Linked DNA regions of Homo sapiens: region 2 is linked to region 1. Evidence: promoter capture Hi-C in human tissues and cell types (Jung and others, 2019). All regions are on one chromosome and are shown on one strand. Each heading gives the region's core, a stretch centred on a gene start or on the middle of the fragment in contact. The rest is flanking DNA. Distances are from core to core; before and after follow the strand shown. Region 1 holds the start of PROKR2 (prokineticin receptor 2). Region 2 has its middle 34 kb from the start of LINC00658.

Region 1 (4,136 bases), core at 724-3,223:
CTTTGTGAGCCCAAGTGGGGATGTAAGTTGCCTCCAAGTATATAATGCAAAGTCTCCAGCCCCTCTCAAAATCCCACTCAGCCCACCCAGTTTCTCTGGGTTCACACCCAGTTCAGTCTATGAACTCCAGCAGAAGTATGGCTCCTGCCCGCCTCATCAAAGGCAATGTCCCCTCTGCTGCCCTCCTGTAGCAGATGTGAGAGTGACGGCCTGCCCAGAATCTCCTCTGCTCACCTGCAGATGCAGTTCCAGGCACCATGACACCTCCCATCCAAGGCCTGAAGCTCTCTTCTTTTCAGCCTTGGGCTTTCTGCACCACACCGGGACACAACTCAAAAGTGAGGGAAATTCTGGCTCTCAGGGAATCTGTCCATCAGTAGGGGGTAGGAATCGATGGCTGAATGTCCAGCCTCCCCGCGCTGCTGTGAACAACCATGAGGCATGTTCTACACGGTCTGCAGGTCAACTGGAGTGAGCCGCAGTGGCACCCTGCTCGTTAGCATATCGTGTATGGGCCCTTCTCCCTTCCCTGCCTCACTTCCCCTCCCCCTGTGTGTGCTTCCCGGGATCTGCTCCCAATAAACTACCTGCACTCAGGTCTTTGTCTGGGAGTCTCCTTGGGGGAAACCTAAACTAAGACAACTCCCCGTAGCACTCTGTTGCACTGTTTTCTAAGCACCCACTGTCTCCCTGGGGACCACATGTCCATCCCCAGAAAAAGCTCCTACTCTGCTGAGGGTGGTCAGGACTTGGAGTTACTACAGCGACATCTGTGGGTCGCCAGATCTGTGTGGAAGCAACCATGCCTTAACTCATCTCAGAGGATTCCATGAAAGCACCAGCGGGCAGATGGTCCCAGGGGTCTGTTTGCCCCCATTGAATAGGGCAGGCATGGTCCATGAGCGAAGAAGCCTCTAGCTGAAGTTGGTAAGTATGCACTATTGCAAAGAATGTGTCCAGGGCGTACAACTGGCCACCCCATCATCTCCCCCACTCAAGCAACAGAGCTTTTTTGCCTCCATATCTGGAAGTTGCCCTGAGCATGTAGAACACCTGCCCAATCGCAGCCCCTCCCCAGGAGGAAAGCAAACAGCTGGCTCTCTTGCCTTTGATCATGCGGGAGAGATGCTAAGAGGTAGGGAGAGTGGGGTCAGGTTCCAGGTAAGGTGGGAAAAGCAGAATCACAGAATGTCACAACCTGAAGGAGTTTGAAGTTCATTTATCCAAAAATTTTTAATTGGCAGCCTTGTGGACTGTGTTCAGTCTGAGACAGGTTCTCTTTGACCAAAACAAGATTTTTGCTTTAACGAACCCAAAGACTATTTTTAAAGTTCTCGAATTCCAGATTCTCTTGAAAACAATGGGAAGCTCTGACAAAGTGGAGTCCATGTTCCCACCTGCCAATAATCCGCTGGCTGGGGTTTAACGATGGGGAACACCTTTTTAGACCTTCAGGGTCCTGCCACAGGTTCAATCCTGTATGCCCAGAGCTTCCTGGGCACCAGTCATTTGAATGGGCAGTTCCTGTGTTTAACCAGGAAGGTCGTGGGAGGATTTCGAACCTGTCAGAAGCAAAGTGAAGGGCTCCAGACTCTCCGGACAGATGGGCTGAGGCACTCCTGGGATTGTCTTTATACGGCCATGGAATCTGATAGTGGTGGTCATCGCAAAGTTTGGGTGAGGACTTCAGGGGCTTTGAGCAGAGCAAACTGTCCCCATCCCCAGCTTCCTCCTGGGGGCCTCCTCCTTCACCGCCATCTCCAAAGGCCCACACCGCACTCGTCGGAGCCGGGCTTTCCTTGAAAGGGTCACCTTCTAGTGGGCGCGGACGCTGGCACTGGGCACCTCCGGAAGACAGGACTCTCCCCTCCTGCGCGCGCGACCCGGGTGCGGTGCCACGACTGGCGGCAGAGGGCGGTGCTCACTGTTCCCAAGCGCACGGTAGAAACCCGGCTACTGTGTGGTCCGATTCAGACGGGATGCGAAGGCGCTGAAATCCGTGCGAGAGGCTGCCCCCGCTGCCGGGGACTCGCGTCAGCGCGGCCGGAGCTACGGTGCCCGCGCCCTGGACGCACCAGCCCGAGAGCACGCGGTGGGGTGGGGGAGCTGGGCATCCACCCTTGGCCTGGACTAGGAGGCAGGCGGGGACCCCGGGGCGGAGTCCAGCGCGGGGCGGGGCGCACAGGTCCGAGACGCTGGAAAGAGCTGTGGGGCCGGAGCGCCAACTCCAGCTGGAACCCAGAGACCCTGACACGCCGGAGGAGCCCGCCGGGGCGAGGAAAAAAGAGGGACATCCCCCACGCAGCGGCTCTGCAAGTGCAAGTCCGGGTCCTCGAGGTGAAAACCGAGCGGCCCGCCTGCGCCCAACCACACTGTGACTCTCGATCCGGCTTCCGGAGCAGCAGAGCGCACAGAAAGGAGGCGCCGAGACAGGTAAGGGCTTAGATCCCTGCAGTCCCGGGACTCAGTCGGTGCGGTGGGGGAGTCGCTAGGACAAGGGCCTCTGACGCCCACTTTTTTCTCGGGCATTCCGGCTGCTTTGCCTCCCGCCACTCTCGAGATATGCGTCGGGGCTGGCTCCAAGCAGGCGAGTTGGTTTCAGGAGATCCCCTCTGGGCCCTCTAGGACCGGGTAGGGTACGGTAAGCGGAGTCTGTGGTGTGCGGGCGCGGGCAGAGGGAGCCAGCGGGTAGCTGAGCTCGCGGACGAGCTCCAAATTGCAGGGGAGGGTGCAGGTAGAGGGGCACCTTCCTGAAAGGTGAGCAGGAAACAGCAAGCGTCCGTGGGGAAATTCCCGCGCACCGCATCCTCCACCCACCCGCCGTTTTCTTCCAGCCAGGAGGCACCGCAGCCTTTGCTTCTAGAGCCTGAATTTCTGACTTGATTCCTGTCTTTGCCAGGATGTCGCCTCTAGACGCCGACAGTGCGGCCGCGTTGATGGGGCGGGAAGGGGGCTGCTGGAACGGGTCGCTCCCGGGCGGGGAGTGCAATCTACGAAAATGCGGCTGGGACCTGTCCCAGCCCGGGCGCGCGCCCTCTTGTCTTGGGTTAGGGGGCTGGAAAGCCGAGGAGGGGTAGGACTCCCCATTCTTGGTCCCACGCTGAGCAGAGGCTGCGGGGATTGGGGTGTCGCATGAGACGGAGGGGCGACCTGGAGAGAAGACACCTCCGGGTGTGGACGCCACTGGGATTTGCATCTCGCCTCTTGGAGGTTTTCACCTTGGGAAAGCAGCTGGCGGGCGCACCCCAGGTTAGGGTGTCTTTTGCTGGCGCGCAGTTCCTGTCCCTCGGCGTTCTCCTCCCCTCGCAGGAGTGGACCAAATGCATTGTTCAGCTGGGTCATCTCCTTGCTACCCAGCATCCCGCGGCGCCCACATGTGGAGTCGTTTCCAGGTGTGCTGAGAGGCGAGGGGAAGGCCACTCACAGCTGGACAGCCAGGGCCCCTTTCTATAGGTGTTGGGATCTGGGCTCTTTTTCCAGCCCCTCGGTGAAGCCTTGTACCCTGGGGTGCCCTATCTCCTGCGGGCTGAGGGCTTCAGAGACTATTTTCCCTATTTTGAGACCTTGGTGACAGGACATGGTGCCTTTCAGGCAGGGTTGACTCTGGGTGGAGAACTAGGGCCAAGTGAAGGAGGTCAGAGAGCAGATCCAAAGTTGGAGTAGGGTGGGAAGGGCGGCAGAGGATTTCTTTCTGGAGCTGGTTCCCACAGAACGGGGAGCAGCAGGGGAATTCCCCTCCCCCACCCCACCACCACCTCCTCCACCTACAGCGCCCTGGTCATGCACTCAACAGATGTCTGTCTAGCCCCCACTATGCACCAGGCACTGGACTGGGCAGCAGGAATTTGGTTTACAGGAAGATTAGGACTCAGAGAGCATAAATCACTGGCCCAGGGTGACTCAGTCTGTCCATGTGAAAGTGAACTTGGTGATTTCCAAGTCTATGGCTTGGTCAGTACAGAAGGAGTGGTGTCCTGCTTTGGAGAGAAGACCCCGCAGCATCCTGGCCCTCCTGCTTCATTGTCCCTGGCCAACAGGTGCCACAACGTTGTGACAGCTGTAGGAGCCTGGCCAGCTCATGGGAGCATCCTTGGAAATGTTCCAGAAGCCCCTGTGGGAGCTGATGTGTTGGGGGC
Region 2 (4,081 bases), core at 1,478-3,977, 94 kb before region 1:
ATACTTTTGTTCAAGTTTGAAGGCAGGGAAAAAACCAATGTCCCAACTCAAAGGCAGTCAGGCAGGAGGAGTTCCCTTTTACCCAAGAGAGGGTCAGGATTTTGAGCCTACTCAGGCCGTCAACTGATTGAATGAGGCCCACCCATATTAGGGAGTGTGTATTAGTCCATGTTCACACTGCTATGAAGAACTGCCCAAGACTGTGTAATTTATAGAGGAAAGAGGCTTAATTGATGCACAGCTCAGCATGGCTGAGGAGGCCTCAGGAAATTTATAATCATGGTGGAAGGTGAAGGGGAAGCAAGGCACCTTCTTCACAAGGCGGCAGGAAGGAGAATGAATGCAGGAGGAACTACCAAACACTTATAAAACCATCAGATCTCGTGAGAACTCACTATCATGAGAACAGCATGGGGGAAACCGCCCCCATTATTCCATTATCTCCACCTAGTCTGTCCCTTGACATATGGGGATTATGGGGATTACAATTCAAGATGAGATTTTGGGTGGGGACACAGCCAAACCATATCAGAGGGCAATCTGCTTTACTCAGTCTATCAATTTAGTGAAGTTCATCCTAAAATACCCTCAGAGAAACACCAAGAATAATGTTTGGCTAAATATCTGGGCATCCCATGACCCAGTCGAGTTGACACGTAAAATTAACCATCACAGGTAATCCATAAAAAATGAGATAGCCATTGGTTGGGAATTACTCCTTCAATTTCCTTTCATTATTCTGCCGTCAACCCTGTGTATATTCCTATCTCACCTCTAGCCCTATTGCCTGAGAGCCTTCCCCGTGCCATGCCCACCCCCCCAACGAGGTGGCCAGGTGGAGGCCCTGTAGGGCATGGAGACAGAGGGGCTGCCCATAGAGGCTTTGTGAGTGTGTCCATGGAGCTAAGAGTCAGGCAAATCCCTGACTTTCCACCACAGGAACTATCCCCTCCATCATGACAGTCTTTCTCATCATAAGACCCCCACTGTAATGACCAAACTCATACTTACAGTCATTTGGCAACTTTTAACAGAGCAGAAGAAATGATCAAAGCAGTAGTACACTACCCAGAGATTCAGGTGCCTTCATGCCATGAACATTTTTTAGAACAGTACCCCCGATTTTCACCTTACTTCAAAAGTCCTTGGTACAATGAAAATTGCCTATTTTTGTTCCTTAGAAATTTTACTCAAAAATGTGGAAGGCATTTTCAATCTAAATCTCATTTAACTCATGTTTTAAGACACTCTAGTCATCCAGCCCTTGCAGAAAAGTCCACCCAATTTAACATTTATAACATTTGGTTTTCATATTACTTGTTTTTTTCTACTTAATAAATCTCTGTGTGTATATGTGTGCGTGTTGTATATCTTGTTTTATTTTCATGATCAACTTTTAGGTTTTTACGAAATAAAATGAATTTCCAGGAACAGAACACCAATTCATAACTTTTTGCCTCTAGGAAATGAGGGTTTAATTTATGAAGTATAGATCTGCTGCCATGGTTCAGAAATTTAATTAAATCATAAGTCGAGTGAATTGTGTTTCTTTTCCCAGCCCAGAGGCCAGTGCCACTGCGAGTGTCGGGTGCTGAGTGTACATGGGATCCCCAGAAGCTCTGTCTGGGAAGTGGGAGTGGGGGGCAGTGTGGGGAAGCTCAGAGGCCCTGGAACAGGATTGCCAGGGTCTGGAGTCTGAGGCCGTCTTTTACTAACTGTGTCTTTCCCTCTGTTTCATTATTTCTAAAATGGAGAAATTGGTCAATGCAAGTTACAGATTAATGAGACTATTGATGTGAAGTGTTCATCGTAGTACCCAGCACTTAATAAATGTACAGCAAGTATGAGCTACCAGCTATCCCTCCCCTGGGGGTTAAAAGCTATGTGTAAAAGGAAAACTGGGGCTTCCACCCCGGCCAGGCATGTTCATTGCTGGTACCGGCCTTGACAAATTAGGCCCTCTGAGGGAGCCTCAGCCTCATTCTTCTTCAGAAGTGACCAATAGCAGATGACCTCCAGGTGTCCCTTGGCCAAACCAAACTTTCAGTCTGTTGCTTGTCCTGTGTCATGCAAGTACCTTCCAGGGATTGTAGAACCTTTGAAGGAGCTCACGGATAGAGCTGCTGTGGCTTCCCTGGATGGGGACACAGAAGAAGGGGCCCTGTAAACCTTCACTGCTTTTGGCAGGAAGTGAACAAGACCTTCTCCTATTGCAGGCCCACACAGATCTCACTCGCAAGCACCCTCTGCTGCATTTGAGTTTTTAAATGGTCTGCTCAGAAATGCTGAGATGTTGCTCTCACTTGTTCAATGTCTTCTTGCAGCAGACAGCACATGAATCCTAAAGTAGCCAAGCCTCAAGGGCTTTGCTTCATCCTCCGGGTTTCTCCTCCAAGAGACACACACCCTGGGAAGGAACAGAAGCACCTTTTGGGGGATATGGAATGTTTTACATCTCAGTCTGGGTGTTAGCTACGTGAAAAAAACCCATCTGCAAAACACTCATTGAGCTCTGTACTTAAGATGTGTGCACTTCATCCACTGTACTGTATATATGTTATTATACTTCAACTAAAACATTAAAAGAAAAACAAGATGTGGAGAAGCTGTGAAAATTAACAGGCAACATACAAATACCTAAAACAATTAGTGCAGACTCTTAGGCAGTAGAAATTACCTCCAGCTTCTCATGAAGAAATGAGAGAAATCCTACTACTAATCATAGGGCCTCTGGAAGCTTTGCTCCCCCTTTTATTTCTGATTTTCATGGCTTTGGCTCTTGACCTTAAATGAAAGCCAGTGGCAAGGTTAGCAGCAAAGGGAGGTGAGCTCATTACTTCTCTGACAGTCTGTTTCACCTAGACACTGAAGACAATTTCTCCCCATACTTGAGTAATCCCCACCAAATTACTTCAAGAAGGGCTGTTGGAATCACAGCCTAGAGGAGTTCTGATGAGTTCAGAATTGGAAATCATTAGGTCCCTCTAACCACTACTTAAGCATTTACTGTTAGAAATCCTTTGCCCCAGACACAAATGGTGGGTTATAAATTATTTATGGACCCAATTAGGGACATAATTGGAGTGATCTGGCTGTTTGCCATAGCACTAATGCATCTAAAGTTTTTCATCTTTCAGTTAAACTTTTTTCTGCTTTCTGTTACACTTTGATATCCTAATCTGCTCTCCAGAGGTCTGCAAAAATAAAAATAAAATAAAATAAGGAAAAGTGTTCATGACTCTTTCATAAATGCATATAAACTTGAGCTTCAGTGAAGAGTCATTGAATATCAGCAAGTTAATCATGCTTTTGCTTCATTATGCTCCCACAAGTATTAGCAAAAATCACTGACCTCAAATCACTTATAAAGAAATGGCTTTGATGTGTTTATGCAACCTCCTTCCTCTTTCAGTGTCACTGCAACCTCTGCCTCCCAGGATCAAGAGATTCTCCTGCCTCAGCCTCCTGAGTAGCTGGGATTACAGGTGCACATTACCACGCCCGGCTAATTTTGTACTTTGTAGTAGAGATGGGGTTTCACCATGTTGGCCAGGCTAGTCTCAAACTCCTGACCTTGGGTGATCCACCCACCTCGGCCTCCCAAAGTGCTAGGATTACAGGCATGAGCCCCATGGCGCCCAGCCTGACATTTCTTTATTTAAATGAGCTCAGTTGCGTTTTGGTTTCTTGCATTAGACTGTTTCTAAAACACAGAATAAGATTGGTTAATCCCTTCAAAATAAATGTGCCTACTTTTCCTTATTTGGTCCTGCCCCATTAAAAACTCAAGCTCCTTCATCTTTTAATGCTCAGTTCCACGCTGACACAGCGTGATATTGTAAAACACATATTTGGTCTTCAACCTCCTTTTCTGGCATACAACTCCTAAAATCCTTCGAATCTCCCCAAAGTGATGGTTTTTGTATGCTAATGATTGACTGGTGGCTGGCAGCCCCTAACATAGATTCAGGGTGGGGTTGGTCACTGGTCACTGGGAAACCAAAGCAGGGTTAGAGAGCTTGAATTTTCAGCTGTATGGGAATCCCAAACCTCTGGGGAGGGAAGAGGAACTGAAGGTTAA

What was found. Contacts are between HindIII fragments. The study calls those that stand out against the background at their distance.
Region 2: a contact is called between a fragment that was not itself captured here and the fragment with the promoter of PROKR2 in region 1, in 4 of the 25 tissues and cell types used here (H1 embryonic stem cells, IMR-90 fibroblasts, aorta and 1 more).

What each region holds. Positions count from the first base shown.
Region 1 is chr20:5,314,791-5,318,926 of GRCh38, reverse strand. PROKR2 (prokineticin receptor 2) reads left to right here and starts at 1,973. Exons shown (of 3, transcript NM_144773.4): 1 at 1,973-2,433. The HindIII fragment of the contact is 13,355 bases long and covers 1-4,136 here.
Region 2 is chr20:5,409,643-5,413,723 of GRCh38, reverse strand. No RefSeq gene overlaps it. Among named protein-coding and RNA genes, the nearest start is that of LINC00658, 34 kb to the left of the region's middle. The HindIII fragment of the contact is 4,719 bases long and covers 368-4,081 here.